Regions from separate parts of the Homo sapiens genome. Here regions 1, 2 and 3 are each linked to region 4. The links are contacts of gene promoters, found by promoter capture Hi-C in blood cells and fetal thymus (Javierre and others, 2016). All regions are on one chromosome and are shown on one strand. The core of a region is centred on a gene start or on the middle of the fragment in contact, and the rest is flanking DNA. Distances in the headings are between cores, read along the strand shown. Region 1 has its middle 10 kb from the start of HINT3. Region 2 overlaps HINT3 (histidine triad nucleotide binding protein 3). Region 3 overlaps TRMT11 (tRNA methyltransferase 11). Region 4 holds the start of NCOA7-AS1 (NCOA7 antisense RNA 1).

The links. The method cuts DNA at HindIII sites, captures the fragments that hold promoters and counts their contacts. A CHiCAGO score of 5 or more calls a contact.
Region 1: a contact is called between a fragment that was not itself captured here and the fragment with the promoter of NCOA7-AS1 in region 4, in 8 of 17 cell types (total B cells, total CD8 T cells, activated CD4 T cells and 5 more). The highest score is 6.8, in total B cells.
Region 2: a contact is called between a fragment that was not itself captured here and the fragment with the promoter of NCOA7-AS1 in region 4, in 10 of 17 cell types (activated CD4 T cells, erythroblasts, megakaryocytes and 7 more). The highest score is 9.9, in activated CD4 T cells.
Region 3: a contact is called between a fragment that was not itself captured here and the fragment with the promoter of NCOA7-AS1 in region 4, in 2 of 17 cell types (activated CD4 T cells and erythroblasts). The highest score is 6.2, in activated CD4 T cells.

What each region holds. Positions count from the first base shown.
Region 1 is chr6:125,943,914-125,949,559 of GRCh38, forward strand. No RefSeq gene overlaps it. Among named protein-coding and RNA genes, the nearest start is that of HINT3, 10 kb to the right of the region's middle. RefSeq lists enhancers at 2,285-2,779, 2,430-2,724. The HindIII fragment of the contact is 2,744 bases long and covers 2,205-4,948 here.
Region 2 is chr6:125,967,853-125,973,343 of GRCh38, forward strand. It overlaps HINT3 (histidine triad nucleotide binding protein 3), which reads left to right. Exons shown (of 5, transcript NM_138571.5): 3 at 4,407-4,476. Among named protein-coding and RNA genes, the nearest start is that of HINT3, 14 kb to the left of the region's middle. The HindIII fragment of the contact is 5,980 bases long and covers 88-5,491 here.
Region 3 is chr6:125,989,655-125,995,226 of GRCh38, forward strand. TRMT11 (tRNA methyltransferase 11) reads left to right here. Exons shown (of 13, transcript NM_001031712.3): 2 at 4,103-4,168. Among named protein-coding and RNA genes, the nearest start is that of TRMT11, 5.9 kb to the left of the region's middle. The HindIII fragment of the contact is 1,548 bases long and covers 995-2,542 here.
Region 4 is chr6:125,815,921-125,821,837 of GRCh38, forward strand. It overlaps NCOA7-AS1 (NCOA7 antisense RNA 1), which reads right to left and starts at 2,938. Exons shown (of 3, transcript NR_126386.1): 1 at 2,890-2,938. All of the region lies in intron 2 of NCOA7 (nuclear receptor coactivator 7), which reads left to right. RefSeq lists an enhancer at 2,163-2,664. The HindIII fragment of the contact is 4,548 bases long and covers 1-4,412 here.

The DNA.
Region 1 (5,646 bases), core at 2,327-4,826, 130 kb after region 4:
AGTGGTGTGGATAAGATACATTGGCCTTGAGATGATGAGGAAATATAGGTGTGAGCTTGACAAGAAAATTGACATTAACTTCAGGATGTCAGAGTTATGCTGATTTACATGGTAGCTGTTTCGTACTGCTTTGGAGGAGATAAGAAATGCCTCACTGTGCTACTAAAAGGCCTGCAAGACAGACCCATCTATCATCCACCAAGTAAATTCATCTTCCTGTGTCCTATTTTCTCCATTTCTAAAATAGGGATAATAATATCCTTTTCTCTCAGTTGACATGAAAATCAATTTGTGCATATGAAAGTGTCTTAGAAAATTGTAAAATGCCAGATGAAAGTAAGTTAGAAATATGATGGTGTTAGTCACACCCAACTTTGTTTATGCTGAATTCTTTATCAAAAATACAAAGTCCAGGTGTAGCCTTGTTCCTGATTTAAAAAAAAAAGAAGAGATTATTTTCAATGCTTTGTTTAAGGACATGGTTTTTAAGAAAGATTATAAAAAACAGAAATGTCTGCATTACATCCTGTAGACGAGTAAACAAAGCAATTTATCAAGGAAATAGCAGGGATGGGGAAGTTTTGCTTTTGTCATTCTTTCCATTAGAAATAATTTACACTGTTTCCACTTAACAACAGATCAGGACTTCCCTTAATGTCCTTTAGCAAAGCTCAAAGAGCTACAGTTGGGACTTTGGGCCACCGGCCAGTATTTGTTCAAAGAGAGCTGTACGGTAGTTCAGTAATCAGAAACTGGAAATTTCTCTTTTCCCACACACAAGCACTACTTCCTCCCCTTATTTTGCCCAGACATTTCACAATCCTTGCAACGGATGGAGGCCAATATACACGCAGCATTTAGTACCAGGCAACAGCCACCTTAGCCTTAAGTATTTCTTTTATTATTTTTCTTAAGGAGGGAGAAATGTTTTCATGCTTGTTATTCTTTTACCTTTGGAAAAATCTAATATTCTTCAGACAGTGGTGAAAGAGCAAAAATTTATTGGTATTTACTAAATATAAGACAGGAATAGTCTTTGTATTCATGCTCAGGAAATTTCTATTTTGGATGCAGAAAACGATATACCTATTGTCAAGATGATATTTTATCAGATTAGGACAAACCCACAAACACACTTTCCATATCCTCAGTATAAAATGGAAAGAAACATGACACTGTATCATGCATATGGTCATAGCAGCTCAATAGTCCACCTCTGCCAGAAATACCATGAAATCTGCATGAAAATGCCCTATATCTTCTGACATGTCATGAACAATTCAAAAATATATGGAAGAGGGTTATTTATAAAGCAGAGAATTATTAGAGGAAATGAAGTTCATCTGGAATCCTGAATCTTAAAAAAAGTTGATCAGGATGTTTTACTTATGACAAAAGTATTGTTGAATAAATAAAATGTAGAGATAAAAGGGAAGGAAAAACATCCAGCCATAATATGTCCATCCACAGACCAAGAGTGAATCTATTTTTTCAGGCATTTTCTTATAAATCCTTAATTATATTTAATAAACATGGAATCATACTAGCCATACTCTTTTGTAACCTATTTAACATATTCAAGCTCCCATTAGACTGCCTGGCTCTGGGTTCCAGCTCTGTCACTGACTAATAGGATGACATTGCACAAGTTACTTAATCAACCTGCTGATAAGAATGGAATTTTGAGCAGAGGAGTCAAAGGCTCTAGAGCTGCAAAGATTAAGTTGTCATCAGCCAACATTGGAAGTCTGTGCATAAAAGAGATTTCTAGGAAAAAAAAAAATCAGCAGTTCAATCTATCGGACACCTGAATGGAAATATCAAGCATGTAGTTGGATTGTGACTTGAAGAAAAGCATGAAGAGTTACAAGTGTAGGCCATGGGCCTATAGATATTTAGAGCAGTGAGACTGGATAAAATCAAGGGAGCAATTGTAGATAGAGAAGAAGACCAAGAACTGAGCCTTGGACCATTCCAACACTAAGAGTTTAGAGGGGAGATACAAAGGGAAGGGAAAGAACTTAAGAGGAAAAAAGGAAAACAAGAGAATGCAGTGACCTGGAAACATATGAAGAAGGTGTATTAAGGAGACAGGGATTATTAAAATGTGCCAAATGCTGCTAATCAGATAAGAAAAGGACTGAGAATTGCCATTGAATTTGGCAATGTGGAGGTCACCCAAGAGCAGTGTGTGTGGAGAGAAAAGCTTGAAAGAAGAGAAGGTTTACAAGAGAACGGGAGGAAAGAAATTGGAGAGAGCTAGTATGGACACTTATTTCAAGATTTCCTGCTAAGAGCAACAAATACATGGGACAGGTCCTGGTGGGAAAAGTAGGCTCAAAAGAAAGTTTCATTTCATTTTTCTAGAGTGGAAGAAATTATAGCATGTTTGTAAGTGGATAGAATGATCCAGTAAAGATAATAAAATACATGATGTAAGACATAAGGGGAATTTCTGAAGTGGTGTTCTTGCGTGAGCAAGAAGGAATGGGATCTAGCATGTAAGTGGAGGAATTAGTTTTGATATGAGCACAGACTGTTTATCTTTGGTATCAGTCAGGAAGGCCAAGTATATGAGTCATCATTTTGGAGGGAGTCAGTTGAAGTTCTCTTCTGAGAGCTTCAATTTTCCCATTACGCCCTTTATCCTTGCTCATGTGAATTACACGGGAAGCATCAGAGTCCCAGGGCACCCCTTATTTCCAGCTCTCTAACCCTCATAGAGCTCTGTAATTCCCATAAATGGTCTCCTATCCTCCCTCCTGAAACTCTTTCTTTACGTTATCAGAAATGTAGAGTGCATCATGTCAGTTGTGTAGGAGAGTGTTTATTTTCCTGTGCCCTCGCAATACAAATGCTATTGCATAAAGGAATCTTTGCCAATTTAATTGGGGAAAGGCTTATTTCACTGTTATTTAACGTAGACTTCTTCAATTTCTAGTAAGGATGAATATTTTCTTCACATTTTTAAATGGTACTTTTTCTTTTAATTAATTACTTTCATAAAAGCTGCTTATTTTTCTGCTAGGGTTTTCAACTGTTTTTTTTTTTTTTTTTTTTTTTTTTTTTTTTTGAGATAGGATCTTGCCCTGTAGCCCAGGCTGGAGTGCAGTGGCATGATCTCAGCTCAGTGCAGCCTCTGCCTTGTGGGTTCACGCGATTCTCCTGCCTCAGCTACCTGAGTAATTGGGACTATAGGCGTGCACCACCATGTCCAGCTAATTTTTGTATTTTTAGTACAGATAGGATTTCACCATGTTGCCCAGGCTGGTCTCAAACTACTGGCTTCAAGTGATCCACCTGCCTCGACCTCCCAAAGTGCTGGGATTGCAGGTGTGAGCCACTGTGCTGGCCTCAATTCTTTCTCATTGTTTTGTAAGAACTCTTCCTAGATAAGTTTATTAATACTATTTTTCACGCATGATGCAAATATTTTCACTCAAATTTCCACTTTTCTTTCAATGCAGTTTTTGGCACTTTTACATACTTTAAAAAATCTTATTTTACATCAATCAGTAATTTATTTAATGGAATCCATTTTGAGCACTTAGGCCCTTTCCTTGCCACCCCCAAGGCAAAGTAAATATTCACCCACATCTTAAAGAAACCCGTAACAGTTCTTTGGTTTCAGTTGTTGCATTTAAATAGTTAATTTCAACAGAAGTATATCTGAGTGCATGGTATAAAGAAGAGATATAATTTTTTTTGCCCCCTGAAATGGTGGCCAGTTGTCACAACTGTCTTTATGAGCTAATTTCTTGTACTAGAAGGGTCCACTATCCCTTTCTAAGGGTACGGCCCAGCCAGCAGTTTCCTGCTGAGAGAAGATGCCCTGGAATGCTCTTGAGAAAGGATTGGTCATCAGTTAGGTTGGGCCTCTGTGCCAAGGCAGCCTCTTAGGTTCATGACAGCCTGCCAGGAACAGCTCCACCCAGAATACTGATATTAACTGGTATTTGAAGCAGCAATAAAAAGAGTATTATGCATTTAGCATCACGGAGAGAAATAAAAACCCACAAAAAGAAAAGTTGAATTTGAAAGGACAATACCAGTAGCTATGCCATTAGTGATGCCATTGAGAAAATCAGATTTCACTGTACATTTTTAAATATGTACAATCCATCTATCCATTCCCACAATTAATGTTTTTCCACAGCCTACTGTGTGCCAGATACCAGGCTGGATGTTTTGATAAACAAGACCACGTCCCACCCACAGGGAATTTACATTCAAATAAGTATTGGGAGCTGACAGGAACATCTAGAAAGCATCATCCTATGTATAGGATTTAAACAGCATATAATAATGGAATAATTTAACAATCCATTTAACATACCAGGATACACAGCTTGCAAACTGAAGCAAGTGTATAAAATTTTTAAAATGTGATAGAGGTAGAGTTAGAAAGCTGGTGGGGAAAGAATGGTAAGTTAGTTGAGTTTCCTGAGGTTTCAAGGAATGGAGACACCTGAGCAACTTAACATGAAAGAAATTTATTTACTTTGAGTTGGTAACAGTCACTTTGCTCAGCCACTCCGGTATCTCTACCTCTTCTGGCCTTTATCAGTGTAGCTCATAGTCTCTGATATTTTTTACATAACTTCTCTTTTTTCCTATGAATAATCTCTTTGGTTATTAACTTACTGACTTAAATTCCTTTTTTATCATTCTCTCTTAAACCAACAGGAATCAGCCTTTCTTCCCACCTCTAACACTAAAACTGCTTTTATCAGCTTTTCCAATGACCTTAGGTCAATTCTGAGTCTTCCTCTTTCTCATGCTATTACTGGCCTTTGGCATAGTTGATCACGCCTTCCTATTTGAAACACTCTTTGCTTTGCCTTCAGGACACCATTCTCTCCTTGTTCTCCTGTGTCATAGGACACTTTTTCTCATTCACGTCTCATTATTTGTCATTTATCCGATTTCACAATGCTAGACTGCTCCAAGCTTGGTCCTTGGAATTTTTCTCTTTTCTACTTCTACTTACCCCCTGGATGATCTCTTCTAATTTTGTGAATGTAAATACTTTACTATATGTTGAAAATTCCAAAATGTGTATCTCCAGGTTGGACTTCTGTCTTGAACCTCAGGCTCATATGTCCAATTACTAATGACATTGTCACTTAGATGTACCAAATAGGCATCTGTAGTGGAGTGTATTATTGTTCATAATATTTGTTGCCTTGTCCAGTGCCAGCATTATACTTACCCTGTTCTGCTGATGTCAGGGCTGGCCTTGGGATTTGCTTTGGTCAATGACATGCGGTGCAACTGACTTAAGTTGTTTTTGAGAAGAAGCCTTAAAAGCCATCATGTGGCTCCATTGTGTTATTTCTTCCCTCTGCCCTGACACCAGAAACATTCCAGATGGAGGCTGCTCCTTCAGCCTGGGTCATGAGATAAAGTCCACGAAGACACAGTTGACCTGCAGTAGACACAAATGTGAGTGAGCAAGAAATAAACTTTTTTGCTTTAAAGCATTAAGGTTTTTGGAGTTGTTTTGTTTCCTTCAAGAAAATGTTTATTGCATATTATTAGTGATTATGTTTTACAGCAAAATAAAATATACACACTTTTCACAAACACAAAATGGGAATCAAGGCAGCTATCAAATTTACATGTTGAACCAAGTCCTGGTTTTCA
Region 2 (5,491 bases), core at 1,828-4,327, 150 kb after region 4:
CTGAATCTTGTCTATTAAGGATGATTGCTCATTTTCCTACTCATGCCTTCTGTGGCTTGTCACCTATCATTTTCTAAGACATTTCTAAGCTTACTTCAAATCTGCCTTTAAAAAAGATAATTTTTTATTTTAGATTTGACGGTTTAGATTTGAAGATTTAGATAAAACTTTTATTTTAGATTTGATGGTACATGAGCAGGTTTATTACGTGGGTATATTGTGTGGTGCTGAGGTTTGGGATACAAATGATCTGTGACCCAGGTAGTGAGCATAGTACCCAACAGTTAGGTTTTCACCTCTTGCCCCCATTTCTCTCTCCCACTTTTAGTTGTCCCCAGTGTCTATTGTTGCCATCTTTTTGTCCATGAGTACCCAGTGTTTACCCTCTCCTTATAAGTGGGAACACAGAGTGTTTGGTTTTCTGTTCCTGTGTAATTCATTTAGAATAATCGCCACCAGCTGCATCCATGCTGCTGCAAAGGAGATGACTTCATTCTTTTTTATAGCTGCATAGTATTACATGGTATATATGTACCACATCTTCTTTATCTAGTCTACTGCTGATGGGCACCTAGGTTGATTCCATGCCTTTGCTGTTGTGAATAGTGCTGTGACTCACATACAAGTGCATGTGTCTTTTTGGTAGGATAATTTGTTTTCTTTTGGATATATACTCAGTAATGGGATTGCTGGGTCGAATGGTAGTTCTATTTTAATTTTTTTGAGAAATCTCCAAACTGCTTTCCACAGTGGCTGAACTAATTTACATTCTCATCAACAGCATGTAAGTGTTATGTTTTCTCTTCTGCCTTACCAGCATCTGTTATTTTTTTACTTTTTAAAAATAGCCATTCTGATTGGTGTTGAAATAGTATCTTATTGTGGGTTTGATTTGCATTTCCTGATGATTAGTGATGTGGAGCATTTTTTTCATATTTTTTTGTCCTCTTGTATGTCTTCTTTTGAGAAGTGTCCGTTTATGTCTTTTGCCCATTGTTTCATGGTGATTTTTGGTTGTTTAATTGTTTAATAATTTATTTACAGATCCGGGATATTGCACCTTTGTCAGATGCATAGTTTGCAAATACTTTTTCCCATTCTGTAGGTTATCCATTTACTCTGTTGATAGTTTCTTTTGCTGTGCAGAGGCTCTTTAATTTGGTCCTACTTGTCAATTTGTGTTTTTATTGCGTTGCTCTTGAGGACTTAGTCATAAATTGTTTCCCAAGGCTGATGTCCAGAATGGTGTTTCCTAGGGTTTCCTCTAGGATTCTTATAGTTTGAGGTCCTACATTTAAATCTTTAATCCATCTTGTGTTAATATTTGTATATGGTGAAAGGTAGGGGTCCAGTTTTATTCTTCTCCATATAGATAACCAGCTATCTCAACACCATTTAACTGAATATGGCGTATTTTCCCATTTCTTATATTTGTCAACTTTGTTGAAGATCAGATGGCTGCAGGTATGTGGCTTTATTTCTGGGTTTTCTGTTATGTTCTGTTGGTCTGTGTGTCTGTTTTTGTACCACTATCATGCTGTTTTGGTTATATAGACTTATAGTATAGTTTGAAGTTGGGTAACGTGATGCCTCTAGCATTGTTCTTTTTGCTTAGGATTGTCTTGGCTACTTGGGTTTTTTGGTTTCATATGAATTTTAGGATAGTTTTCTCTAGTTGTGTGAAAAATGATGTTGGTAGTGTTGAATCCATAGATTACTTTGGGCAGTATGGCCTTTTTAACAATATTGATTCTTCCAGTCCACGAGCATAGAATGTTTTTTCATTTGTTTGTATCATCTATGATTTCTTTCAGCAGCATTTTATAGTTCTCCTCGTAGAGATCTTTCACCTCCTTGACTAGCTGTATTCCTACGTATTTTTGTGTGTGTGTGGCTATTGTAAATGGGATTGTGTTCTTGATTTAGACTGTCAGTTTGAGTGTTGTGTTTGGAAATGCTACTGATTTTTGTACATTGAATTTGTATCCCGAAACTTTACTAAAGTAGTTTATCAGTTCCAGGATCCTGTTGGTGGAGTCTTCAGGGTTTTCTAGGTATGGACTCAGATTGTTGGTGAAGAGAGATAGTTTGACTCCTTTTCCTATTTGGATGCCTTTTATTTCTTTCTCTTGCCTGATTGCTCTGGCTAGGACTTCTGAAATCTGGAAAGGCTTTGTCATGAGGTTCTGGGATTAGTTTGATCAATATTTTAAGGTAGCCTACATGATAGATCAATTGGGCTAGATTTTTAAGAGGTAAGAAACCACTTTAATGGAAAACCTTGATGTGTAGTTCATTAATATTTAGGCTAGTGAATTAACTAACAATTTTTAAACTGTCGATTCTGAATACAGCTAAGTTCCTTAGTCATTTGAAGTTCTATCAGTACATTTGAGAACATATATGATTTATAACTACAGTACCCTGTACTGTACATTTGAGCTTATAACAATTAGATCCAATTTAGATTTACCTGATTGAAACATTTCATCTTTCTTATTAAAAGTTTTTATTTTCATTCTTGTAGTTATTTCTTGGGTTTCACACTTTAGCTTTTTAGGAATTTTTCAATTTATATTCAGCAGAAGTGGAGAATAGAGGCTGTTATAACTAGTTTTTATAATGTTGCAAATCAAATATTGCTAATTTTGAAGCAGCTGGTAGGTATTTGGGATTCCATTACATTTTCCTCTTTGCTTTTGTGTTATATTTGAATATTTCCATACTAAAAGTTGTTGCAAATTAATAATTTTTATATAATTGATAAAGTTGAGGAAATAATAAGCATATGGAAGAGTTCAAGAACACTATCAAGGAATATGACTATAATTGACATTTACAGAACTCCACTTAAATACAGCATACATGTTTTTTAAAAAGCATATGTTCACCAAAGTTGACCATATTCCGAGCAATAAAATACAGCTCAATACATATCAAATGATTGAAATCTTATAAATATGTTCTCTAAAGACAGTATAATTAAATTAGAAAAAGAAAAAATTCCAAAAAAAGATATAGTCTGGCTTGAAGTAATTTGGAGCTTTTTTTTGGACTCTATGGTACTGACCTAGTCTTGGAAGGCTGGCAGTCTCCCAGCTCAAACCTGACTTAAAGAAGTAAACATTAACAATGATTTTGTAAGTCTCAATATATCAGCTATCCTCTGTAGATGTTTTTACTTCTTCGTCTTTCAAATACATGATTACACCATTTAGAAACTATGGAGGCCTAACATTTGGCATGGTGCTTTGAAGATCCCAGGTGACCAAAATTTTTTTGGTGGACAGGTTTATTCCCACCTGAAGGCCATAAAACACCAAGAGAAGAAAGATGATAAAGGAGATGGAATTTGGAAGCCAGAGTCATTATACAAATTTTTGGCTAGTCAAGGATAGGCTGACTGGAAGGGATACCATATCCTTAATTTGGGCTCAAAGACAAATTCAAAGTTTTCTTGTCTTATTAAATCAAACAATTTCTGTTTAATTACTTGGTCTTCTTGATGAGAGTTAGTCCTCATATGATCAGATGTCCTAAATAGCCAGCTGTCCTAAAGTCTACTTATCTGTGAGATTTTGTGATAGTGATGTTGCACTGAGGCTCAATTTGAAACTTTATTTCAGTTGTTGATAAGCAAACTTCTCAGTGACTTAAAGCTACTGAATGTCTTTATTTTTTATTTTATTTATTTATTTTTGAGAGAGGGTCTCACTCTGTTACCTAGACCTGAGTGCAGTGGCACAATCATAGCTCACTGCAGCCTCGACCTCCTGGGCTCAAGAAATCCTTCTGCCTCCACGTATCGAGTAGCTAGGACTATAGGTGTGCACCACCATGCCTGGCTACCTTTTTTTTTTTTTTTTTTTTTTTTTTGAGACAGACTCTTGCTCTGTCACCAGGCTGGAGTGCAGTGGCTCAATCTCGGCTCACTGCAATCTCTGCCTCCCAGGTTCAAGTGATTCTCTTGCCTCAGCCTCCCGAGTAGCTGGGACTACAGGTGTGCACCACCACGCCCGGCTAATTTTTTTTGTATTTTAGTTGAGATGGGGGTTTCACCATGTTGGCCAGGATGGTCTCGATCTCCTGACCTCGTGATCCGCCTGCCTCGGCCTCCCAAAGTGCTGGGATTACAGGCATGAGCCACTGCGCCTGGCCACCCAGCTACTTTTTAAAAAATGTTTTTTAGAGACGAGGTCTTACCTTTTTGCCCAGGCTGGTCTCAAACTCCTAGGCTCAAGTGATCCTCCTCCCAAAGTGTTGGGATTACAGGGGTGAGCCACTGTGCCTGGCCTGAATGTGTCTTTAAATGTTTACCCATTTGATAGGACAAGAGTGAAGATCAATGGCAATTTGTGACCTTAATGTCTCCTCTAGTGTAATGTTGTGTCTTTTCTGTTTTACAGTTGAGAACATGGTAACTGTTGGAAAAACCATTCTTGAAAGAAATAATTTCACTGACTTCACGAATGTGAGGTGTGTATACTTCCAGATGGAAACCAATATTATACATTATTGACGTTTTTCAAAATGTCATTTCTCCATGGAAAATGGAAACAGAGGTGGCAGTTTGTGGTTTAAATGTAGTTTTCCTGAAAGTGAGAATATAGTTCATTGGTAGTATAAATGTAATAAAACTTCCTCTTGTGTCTCAATATCTTCCAATAATTTCCACTTGAAGTTTGGACAGACAAGTCTATATGGGCAGTGGGTAGGTAAAATAGTTACAAGTCTACTTTTTAAAAAAAAATTTTTGAGATAGGATCTCACTGTGTTGCCCAGGCTAGAGTGCAGTGGTGTGATCATGGCTCATTGCAGCCTCAACCTCCCAGACTGAGTATCCTTCTACCTCAGCCTCCAGAGTAGCTGGGACCACAGGCAAGTACTGCCACACCCGGCTAATTTTAAAATTTTTTAGGTAGAGACAGGGTCTCCCTATGTTGCCCAGGCTTGTCTCAAACTCCTGGGCTCAAGTGATTCTCCTGCCTCAGCCTCACACAAGTTCTGGGATTACAGGTGTGAGTCACCACACCCAGCAAATCTACTTTTCTTTGTTCAATATGGGCATTCCTATAAAACTGTATGCAAGTTGAATTTTCTTAGAAAAATTTTATATGATTTAAAAACACATGATTATAATTCTAACGTGAAATTAACTTGAATTTGTTGTCTGCTGAACTCTGGCGTAAGCACATGATGTTCAATTTTTCAACTTTTTTTTTTTTTTTTTTTTTTTTTTTTGAGACGGAGTCTTGCACTGTCCCCCAGGCTGGAGTGCAGTGGTGCGATCTTGGCTCACTGCAACCTCTGCCTCCGGAGTTCAAGTGATTCTCCTGCCTCAGCCTTCCACGTAGCTGGGATTGTGTGTGCATGCCACCATGCCTGGCTAGCTTTTGTATTTCTTATAGTAGAGACAGGGTTTTGCTATGTTGGCCAGGCTGGTCTCGAACTCCTGACATCAAGTGATCCGCCCGCCTTGGCCTCTCAAAAT
Region 3 (5,572 bases), core at 519-3,018, 170 kb after region 4:
GTGATTTTTACTTGTTTTTTCCGTCGTAAATTCTTCTTAGTGTATTACACTTGTGCCAGTTTATTCTTCCAAAAACTCTGTTCTGTTTTACACCCTCATTTTTCTTAAGATGAAAATCTTTAGTCGGGCATTCAAAGTCCATCACTGCATGGTTCTTTCCTTTGTGCTTTCACTTCCCACCTAGTCCTTAGTGCTGCCAAAACTGACTCATTATTCCCTGAATTCCTGCTTTCACCTTTGCTCTCTGTGCTCCCTTTAGTCTGGTTTGGGTCTTTCCCATTCTTTATTGATTTTTACATAGGAAGTATTCATTTAGAGTTAATCACATGTTTATTTCTTTTAGCTTTATATGTTTTACATGATTATTTTTCAGATCCACAGTTCCCTTTCTGTAGTTTTTCCTCCTCTGCCAAAATTCTTATTTTTTTCTTGAATCCCCTTCAATGTAGAAAGCGTAGTTATGTTAAAGTATATGATAAAAGGGATCCTGTGGGTCTGTTTCTATTGTTTCTTTTTGTTCTGTTTCATATAGTGGGCTATTTTTAAAATATATGCCAGATGTTGTATTTGAAAATTTATTTGAAAAAATAATTTGAGGGCTGGGATGATGTACATCCTCTTCAAGAAGATAGGAACGCATAGGAGCATGAGGAATCTAGGTTGGGTTTAACTCATTTTCAGGTGTTAAGCCCTGTTTGTGTTCTGATTCCCAGGTACTCACAGAGTGTAGCTTTTTGACATCCTAGTGTAAATTAGGTGGTTCATCAAGTATCCTTTTCTCCTCTGGGGGGCCCTTTCTCTTTTTTTCCCTTTCTATCGGGCACTCAGAAGGGCTGTTCACTCTTGCAGCTGTTTTTGGATTTGTAAATGTCTCAGGGAAAAAGTGGCTCCACCTTGGAATTTTTGTCCTCTCCTGGATGTTGGTTTGGTAATTTTTGTTATCTTTCTATGCCTTCAATTAGATGGCCAGCTTTTCTAGTTCTTTTCAGCAAGAAGCTTAATCTGAATTACCTCTTTTGCCATACCTGGAAGTTGAATTCCTGTCATTGGGTTAGATTTTTTTCAGGGATTGAGGCAGTTTCCATGAAACTTTACTTCTCAAACTGAAGTAATCTTTTACTCTCTTGTACTCTAATACTTTTTTGCTTTTACCTGTTTAAGAACATGTACTGTTTTTTACACTTTACATTTCAGTTGTGAGGTGGTTTTGTTGGTTCTACTAGACCATAATTTCCCTAAGATAAATGTGTGTGTATTTTTACATAGATCAGGGACTTGCACATATTAGTTGCTTAAAAATTTTTTTGGGGGTCCGGGCGCAGTGGCTCACTCCTGTAATTCCAGTACTTTGGGAGGCTGAGGCGGGCGGATCACAAGGTCAGGAGTTCGAGACCAGTCTGGCCAACATAGTGAAACCCCATCTCTACTAAAAATACAAAAAATTAGCCAGATGTGGTGGTGTGCGCCTGTAATCTCAGCTACCCAAGAGGCTGAGGCAGGAGAATCGCATGAACCTGGGAGGTGGAGGTTGCAGTGAGCCGAGATCACACCATCGCACTCCAGCCCGGGTGACAGTGTGAGACTCCATCTCAAAAAAAAAAAAAAAATTTTTTTTGGAGACTGTTCTCTCTCTGTTTTCCAGGCTACAGTGCAGTGGCGTGACCGTGGCTCACTGCAGCCTCAAAGACCCAAGTTAAGCCATCCTCCCACCTTAGCTTCCTGAGTAGCTGGGACTACAGGTGCACCACTATGTCTGGCTAATTTTTTTATTTTTATTTTTGTGGAGCCGGGTGTTAATCAGAGGCTGAGTGTTGGTGTGAGGGGGCGGGAGGGGGTCTTGGGAGCTCTCACTGTGTTGCCAGGGTTGGTCTCAGACTCCCGGTCTCAAGTTATCTCTTTGCCTCGGCCTCCCAAAGTGCTGGGATTGCAGGTGGAGCCGCCATACCTGGCTGCTTAAAATATTAAAATCAGTGATATAGAATCTCTTCTGGGAAAGGCAATGCAAAGGACAGTCTATCCTTTTGGGCCCAGCTACTGCATTAGAACTGATAAGCAAGGAAGCTATAATGAATGGCTGCCTTTATGAATTAAAATGAGAGATCAGGAATATAAGTGTGGTCCAGTTTTACCTCTGATAGAGTTAATCAGGGCTAAGTATAGTTGGCAGCTACTTAATGTAGTACTTATTGTACTAAATAGTGTTTACTAAAGTTCAAACTCCTGGGTTTTATTGCTTGTCCTGAAGCAACCTTTTAAATGGATGAAAAAGCAAGTAGCTGAAATAATAGAAAAGCTCATGGAATTAACGCATCACACATGCCCCAGATCATGCTACATTTTTATATCCAATGTTCAATATAAATTATTTTTTATTCCTAATATAGAAAGAGTCTCAACTGGAAAGTTGAATTTGCCATAAGATTAATGAACATTTTGTGTTTTGCTTTTTCCAAGTAGATTGATGAAGTGGTTTAAACATGTTTTGCTTTTCAATTTGAAACTTGGGTTATCATATTTATTCTCAGTTTTAGGTGGCTGCTTAAGCTTTGGGTAGTAGAGATAATGCTATGCCATAAAACTTTAATCTTTCACTTTTTTTCCCCACCTAACTCTTAGGATCTTTGTGTTTTAGCTTGTTGCAGCTTTTTAACAGTATATTCCAGGAGCAGCAAACTTTGGTGTTTTAACTTGGTTATAGTTGGATGTTTTAAATGTAAAACTGACTTTACAATATGCTTTAATATAGAACAAACAACAATCATGCAAGATGAAGTAATTTAATCTATAACTTTATTTTTTTTCTTTTAAGTGCTATAACTCTATCAGTCTTGGTTGACTTCTTGAGCCACTGGACTTCTAGGACAGTTATCAGGGTCCTCATCATTTTGATTCCCTTAATAACCACCTAGGTTCTATGCTTCTCTCTTTATAGTTCACCTAACCTGATGAGGTAGCTATGATTCCTGTTTCACATTTGAGGGAACTAAAAGTTGGAGGATTTAAGATTCTTGTATAAAGCCACATCGCTAGTATTTGGAAGAGCTGAAAATCAGATTATGGTCTATTTAATTTCTAAGTCTCATGATGTCTCCTATTCAGATTTGTGTTTTCCTTGCTGCAAAATAACCTTTGGGCTGCCTTCACTGATTTATCAGTAGTCTGTGATAGTTCTTGGTCGATCCATCTGATTGGACTGAATTCAGCCCCTTCTAACACTGAATTTTAAAAAATGATTTGTTGCATAGACAAAATAGAAATGGCACTAGTAGCTTGAACTTCTCATTCTTCTTGGTCTTGGAGTGGGGGACTTCCTGGTCTGGGTATAGTTTCCCTTTTGATGGCGGTGGGCTTGGTGTTAAAGGCTCTTCCTTCTGGTTGGGAGGAAAGGGGATAGTAGGTAGCCAGCAGTGGAACACTTACCTCTCATTAGGTTCCATCCTCCATGAGACCTATATGGAAGAGTGTGATTCTACCTGTTTTATGTGATTTAAGGAGATAACTTGTTAGTCATACAAATTATAAAATTTGTATAATTATTTGGGTTTATCAGTACAAAGTGATTGCTTCAAAGAATATAAACACTCTCTGGACAGATTTCAACTTTGCATGAATGATGCTTTTAAAGTATCTATTATGTTAGTTCTGTTTCTAGTTCTGTAACTTTACACAGAAAGAAGATGAGATAGTTATTTGTGCTTAATGAATACATAGTGGTATGCCCTGGCTGATTATTTTTTTCTTTTCCAAACATCTTCAAATCATGTGTCTGATTTTCATTTTAACTTTATTCATCAATCGTCAGTCTTACTAATCTGCACTTTGTGTAACCTGTTTTTTTCCTTTCCAAAATCAGGGAATTTTTTGATCAAGTGTTTGCTAACTCTTCTGTTGTCGAAAATTTCTCAGAAATTACTTACCTGTGGTTTTTATTATTAGATTATTTCTGAACCCTAAATTGTAATTGTCTGATGTTGAAGCTTAAATGCCTCAGTTAGATCTTCAGCCTACTCTTATTTTTTAGTCATGTAATACCTGTCTCCCTTAGTACATTTTTAGTTCCTTTTTGTTAAAATGTATTTTCTCTGTAATATTTTCAATACAGGAAATAAAGTCTTTGCTTTTGCTTTTTGGAGGTCAGTTTGCCAGCAGTCAAGAAACTTATGGAAAGGTAAGTTAAATTTTCATTAGACCATATGGAGTATACTTAGAAATAGAGCCTTGGGTTTGAAGAGAAGAAGTGCATATCTTAAATTTATATTTGTATGGTTACTTGTATCTGTTTCAAGAGGCAGTGGAATAAAGTGGATATTTTTGGAAAATTTGTGGTTTTGTTAAGTAATTTAGATTTATTTCTAGTATTTTATTTGTTTTACATTTTTAGTCAACAGTTGTGTCATAATTTGTCCTTTCACCTAAAAAAGGGCTGTGCTCCATTGGTGAGCTGTGTTTAGAATTTGAATTTAGAATTTGGCAGAATGTTGGGCTCGTGTTGAGAATCATTTTAAAATTTGAAATTGTGCATTGTATAAGACTGAATTTATGAGCTTTGTATTTTGCATAAAACTATATCAGTGTTTGACAGAAGTTTGGAAAATAGAAAAAATAATTTGCAGTTCCTTCTTGACGTGACTTATAATTTGGGGATGCTGCCTTCCAGTCTTTTTTTTTTTCGTGTACTTTTTTTTCCCTATTGTAATTCTACTTCTGTAGTCTGTGTTTCTCACCTGATAGTGTCAATATAGGCCTAAGTTGTTACTTGGCCTTTATCTCTAACATAGCTACATAATATTTTTCATTGACTAGCTCTACCATAATTAACCATTTCATTTTATTCAGGTTGCTTTAAAAATTTTCTCAATAAAAGTAATACTAAGATGAAAATATTTTTTCTTGTTTGGATTATTTTGAATTTTTCTGTTGGGTAGGGTAAATATTGGAAGAAAAAAAACGGGGTATATACCCAAAGTAATATAAGTCATTCTATTATAAAGATACATGCATGCATATGTTCATTGCAGCACTATTCACAATAGCAAAGCATAGAATCAACCTAAATGCCATCAGTGATAGACTGGATAATGAAAATGTACATATACACCATGGAAGCCATAAAAAGGAACGAGATCATGCATACTGTGCAGCCATAAAAAGGAATGAGATCATGTCCTTTGCAGGGGCATGGATAGAGTTGGAAGCCATTATCCTCAGCAAACTAATGCAGGAACAGAAAACCAAACACCACGTGTTCTCACTTATAAGTGGGAGCTGAATAATAAGAACATATGGACATGTCCAGGGAAACAACACACACTGGAGCCTGTTGGGGGTGGTGGAGTCTGGTGAAGGAGAGCATCAGGAAGAATAGCTAATGGATGCTGGGCTTAATACCTAGGCGATGGGTTGATCTGAGCAGCAAACCACCATGGCACACGTTTACCTATGCAACAAACCTGCACATCCTGCACAGGTATCCCTGAACTTAAAAGTTGAAGAAAAAAGAAAAAAGCTAGGTGTGACAGGAAGGATTTCTTGCAAAAGATGAAAGAGCTAAAGTTGAAAGTCCTGTAGTGTT
Region 4 (5,917 bases), core at 1,688-4,187:
AATAGAAGTAATGTAGTATATGATTGGTTACCATTTACAGATTTAAATGTCTATGTGGCACTCACTAAACATAATAAAATGAATTATATGCTAAACATTTGTAAAACATTTTGATAAGCCAGAATGTTTTCAGACTCAGAGAACATAGGCTTAAAAACATTATGTTTCTCCTAAATTGAAATACATGTTAAGAACTGAATTTAGCCTCATTCCATCCCCAGTCCCCAGGCTGTGCTCATTAGAGATGCATTTATTATTTTCTAAACATGAGCCTTGGAGCCAAAACCAAAGTTTGTTGTTGATGTTTTTATCTAGTAATTAAGCTAGATTTTAGGTTGATAATGGGAAAAGGACAGAAACAATTTAAGGACCTACTATGTACTGAGTGTTTTACTTATTATTTTAATTGCCTTCAAAATAAATCTATGACATCGGTTAATTTATCTCCATTTTACCAGTGATGCAACTAAGACTCAGAAAATATTTTGTCCATTTCATGCAGCATAAGAGTCAGTATTAAACATAAGGCCATCTCCAAAAGGCATGCTCCAGTTAGGAATAGTAAATCATGAATAAGGTTTTGGGGAAGCACAAGTTAAACTACCAATTGTAGTAAAATATTTTCTGCTATTATGACTACAGAGAGTAACCAGATTAGGGAAGGAAGACATCAGGCATCTAATGGATGAGGCACCAGAAAGATAGGATATTTAGAATAAATAAGATCTCCAAAGTTTTTATTTTGAGATAATTTTAGATTCACATGTAGTTAGTTGTAAGGAGTAATAGATACCCTGTATTCTTTATCCATAGTACAGTATCACAACTAGGAAATTCATATTGATACAATCCACCAGCCTTATTCAGAGCATTCATTGTATGTGTGTTTGTGTGTATTTAGTTCCATGCAGTTATATCACATGTAGATTTCTGTGGTCACCATCAGTCAAGATACAGAACAGTTGCATTAAAAGGATCCCACATGCTACCTTTTTGTATCCCTACTCACTCCTTCCATCTGCCTGCCTCCTCTGACAACCACTATAATTTGTCATTTCAAGAATACTAGGTGAATGGAATCATATAGTATGTAACCTTTGGCATTTAGCTTTTTCTTCCCTTCAGCATTACTCCCTTGACATCCCTCAAAGCTGTTGCATGTATCGATAGTTTGTTCCTTTTTATTGCACAGTAGCATTCCATAGTATGGATGAATCACAGCTTTTTAGTCATTTACCCATTGAAGGGCATTTAGGTTGTTTCCAGTTTGGGCTATTTATGAACAAAGATGCTAGATGCTACAATCATTTATGTACAAGTTTTTGTATGAGCATGAGTTTTCATTTCCCTGAGATAATTGTCTGAGAGTGCAATTGCTGGGTCAAAAGATAAGTGTATTTTTAGTTTTATAAAAAAGTGCAATACTCTTTTCTGGAATGGTTGTAACATTTGACATTCCCATCAGCAAAGTCTGAGTAATCCAGTTTGTCTGCATTGTCATTTGGTGGTGTCAATATTTTTTATTTTTATCTTAGCTATTCTGATAAGTATGTAGTGATATCTCATTATGGTTTTAATTTGTATTTCCTTAATGGTTAGTGAAGTTTAACATTTTCATGTGCTTATTATTAGCCATAGTGTATCTTCTTTAGTGGCATCTCCTTTCCTATCTTTTGCCCATTTTCTAATTGAATTGTTTAGGTTTTTACTGTTGAATTGTACACATTCTAGTCTTTTGTTGGATATGTGATTTGCAAATATTTTCTCCCGGACTGTAGTTTGTCTTTTCATCCAGTTAACAGAGTTGCAGAGCAAAAGGTTTTAATTTTGATGTGGTTCAATTTATCAGTTTCTCCTTTTATGAATTGTGCTTTTGGTCTGAATTCTAAGATCTCTTTGCCTAGCTGTATGTTCTGAAGATTCTCTCCTGTTTTTCTTTTCTGAAAATTTTATAGCATTATGTTTTATATTTAAGTCTGTGATCCATTTTGAATTTATTTGTGGATAAGATATGAGTTTAGGTCAAAATGGTGGTCATGCTTCTCCTCCCCTTCCTCCCCGTCTCCCTTCCTCACCTCCTCCCTTTCTTCCTGCTCCTCTTCCTGCTCCTCTTCCTCCTCTTCTTCCTCCTCCCCCTTCCCGCTTCTCCCCCTTCCTTCTTTCTCCCACCTCCTCCTTCCTCCTCCTCCTTACTTTCTTCTTCTTTCTTTTCTTTCTTCTTCACTTGCCCTACATAGTGATTTTAAGAGCTATAGTGCCTTCTCAGCCTGAATCCAAAGTGATTCCTGTAGTAAAGGTAACTGCCGGTTCATGAACAACCTGCTCAATGTTAACCTCTTCTTGTTCCTAAAATGTAGAGTCAGGGGAGCCCCTGAAACTGAGAATACAAACCAAAACTGTTCTGGAAGAGCAGCACAGTTTTTTCAACTCAGAAATGTAAAATTGTCTTGCTTATCATGACCTCTTCTGAAAAGTATTCTAAAAATGAAACAAAAAACGTATCCTAAAATGCTGAAATGTGATCTTGGGAGCATAGGGACAGTGGCACAAGGATGAAATCAGTGATGCTCTTAAGACAGTAAGACAACATGATTTGTAACTAGGAAATGAGAGAGATGGAGAGAGGAGAATGGAGAGAAGAGGGGGTAGGAGCAGGGAGAGAGAGAAAGAGACAGAGAGAGAAACACTGACTGACAAACCTGTAGTTTAGCTCTTACAATGCAGTGGAAGCCAGAAATGGTCAAGCTATTAAAAGCAAAAGGCAAACCAAAGAGAAAAGAACCCCCTTCAGCCTATAATCAGAAAAGAGCCATCCAAAGTTATACATCTTTTCAAATGCCTTCTGACTTAACTGTGGAATTACCATGTGGAACTAGCAACAGAACTTACTTGAAAGCTGGTTTCTGACAATGTAGAGCAGAGTTCTCTGGAGCAGCGTACTTAAGGGCAGTCCAAGCAAGATCTCTGGAGAGAAGGATAAAATGTCAGGCCAAGGGTGAGGCCAAACTGATGCAATCTCAGTTTTCTCTAAACTAAATTATACCACCTTACATAAATCTCAACTGGTGTTCTGAGGAAGTCAAAAGGAAGATTTACCCTGATGCTGTGCCTGCTGCCACAATTACATATCTGAAACCCTAAAAACTGCTTTTTAGCCTGCTTCCCCCTTCCACCTAGGAAAAACTAGGAACACCTAGTTTTTCCTCCTGAGTAGTTAAATAGCCAATGTTTTCTTTGTGTGCTATCTTATCATGTGGTTTCATAATCGTTGTGTGACTGTGTTTGATAAATAGTCCTTTGCCAAACCTGTTTTGTTGACGTTTCGCTCTTTAACATCAAAATAGAGTTTAAAATACCCTATTTTAATAATTTTGGATTGAAATTAGTGATTTGAGGGTCACCCAGTCTTTCCTTTCTTATAATTTATCTTGAAATATGCCTGTGTAACTCTAAATAGAGGGGTGGATTAATACTGCTACTAGATAGAGTAATTCTGGATAAGACCTGATGAATTTTTTGGATTTTCTGACCCTGGTCCAACTGGTTTTCAGGTGCTTCAGGATAGTTTTATAACAGTTGTTAAATCTAGATTGAATGATTTGTGAAACTTTTTCACAAATGGTTTTGCAAATAATTTATATATGCAAAATTAGTATATGTCTATATTAATTTCTTGATCCCTGACAGGTCTTGAAAACCAAATGAAAAACTGAATTACTAAAGCAAATTATACTTTCTGTACTATTTGTACTGTGTACAATTTATGCTATCCTCTGGGGTGACTATCATGTGTCATTTGTTACACCCCTGCTGACTCTTCCTTCCCCTTGTAGTTAGAATGCAAAATTTTCTTTAGTATTGCCATACAGGGCTGTCTTCTTACACACTTGCTTGACATTATTTGGCTTTTGTGATTTCCGAGTAGGTCCTTGTATGCCATTGGTTGAAGATTCTTTGAAAGCATTTTTTCAGGATCAAGCGTTGATTGAAGATATCCAAAATACATCTGTAGTTGAACCAAATGGTGTTTTGTGGGAGGTTTACTTTTCCCCTCTGATAAGGTGTGAGAGCCTGGGAGTAAACAGTGAGTAATATAGACGAAGACACAGACTGGGTGTTCATGTAGGTCCCTTGTTGGCTCCCACCTCCCCTATTCCCTGGTTGTCATGAAAAGCAGAACTGCTGCTCCCACCTCCGCTTTCCTCTTAACCCAGCCTTTCAGAGCAGCAGTAGGAGCCAGCACCACCTCTGTCATCATTCTCAGTGACAAAGGATGCAAAGTGTAGAACATTTCTTAGCTCCCATCTCCAGCCTCTGCCCTGGCAATTCTTCACCCTTGAACCTCTGACCCACAAGCAGAACACCTAGTGTTTGCAGTTCACTCCAGTGTATAACCTCTGGCAAGTCTTCTAAGCTTCCTTTACCTTACATTTCTTCAGTTGTTAAATGTTGCTAAAAATAACCAACTAACAAGATGCTTTTGAAGAAGGAGACATCCCAACCAGCCAGAACTGGAGAGAAGCTCAAATGGGACCCAGCAAGGAGGGCCAGAGCTGAACAGCTGGTCCCCTTATTCTCTTTTCCATGGCAGAGGAGATTTGAACCCACTGTATAGCTTTCTCTGTTGTGTGAATAGTACACTTTGTAGCTTTCGTGTTCAAGTAAAATGAAACCAAGATGGCTATGAAGATTGAGGGTAATATACGAACAGTACCTGATACAGTGAGTACTCACACATTCCTTTAATAACAAATCATTCCTGATCTTACTTCTGTGTCTACCTACATCTTCACCTAATTTTCATCTTGACCTCCCACTTTCAGCCCATGAGCTGCTCCTGTTGTTCAGATCAGGGAAGAAGGAACACTTAACGACAATCCAAATTGGAACCATATCATTTCCCAAAGATACTTTGCTATAAGCACAGTTAGTTAGGTTCTGGGATATAATGAAGTGGAGTTATATAGTCAAAGGGCCTTGAGAAACCTAACAGTCTTTTATTTAACAGTTGGACCCTAAGCCCATGAGGTGAAAGGGTCCATGATAGGCTGGCTCTATCCCAGGGTACTTTTAGATATATTAATTGGTAATCAGAGCCTCACCACTTGAGTGGCTTGATGAACCGTCATGTCAAGCGGCGTGCCAGTGATACTGGCCCCCTTGGTCCTCAGAGTGGCCAGGCAGGGATTGGGTTTGTCAGAGACCTGGGCTGGTCATCTTTAGCTATGATCAGCATCTTACCCCAGGGATGAGTAGAAGTATTATCATCTTTCTGCATGCCTTGATATGAAAAAGGCTTTTGTAAAAAGTGATCCAGATTATCTTCATACCAAACATCTGATTTAAAAAAAGTTCATCCCTAAATATAATTTGACTGCTATGATAATTTATACTCAAAGGGGTTGAATAACTTCACTGAGATAAGATAGGCGTGTCAGGATTTGAACTCAGGTCTTCCCTTCTCCATCCAGAGCTTATGCTCTGCAGTGCTGCCATGTGCCCCTTTAGTTGCAAAACGGGGCTTATAGAACACAGGTCACCTGACCTGCTGCTACTCACAGTGTGGGTTGCATAGATTTCTGTGGGCAGTCTTGACAGCTGAACATTAATTTACACCAGTGTAAATTAATTTGGAGAAATGCATCATAGGTTCTAAAGGTCTAACTTATAAGCGACCTTTTCAAAAATAATTTGTTTATAACTTGACAACATCCCATAATCCATGTCTTATCAACTTATTCATCTATAATATGGTTAATGTCAGAGTATTAACCTACCAAGACAATAGGAAGCAGGCAGTCTGTAATACTTCACCTGTGTAAGTCAGGGTGTTGCATTACAGTGATCCACTTTACTCCCTAAGGTTGCATGTTGTCTGAAAAGAGCAGTTGCCCATGATAGAAATGAATGCAGAAAT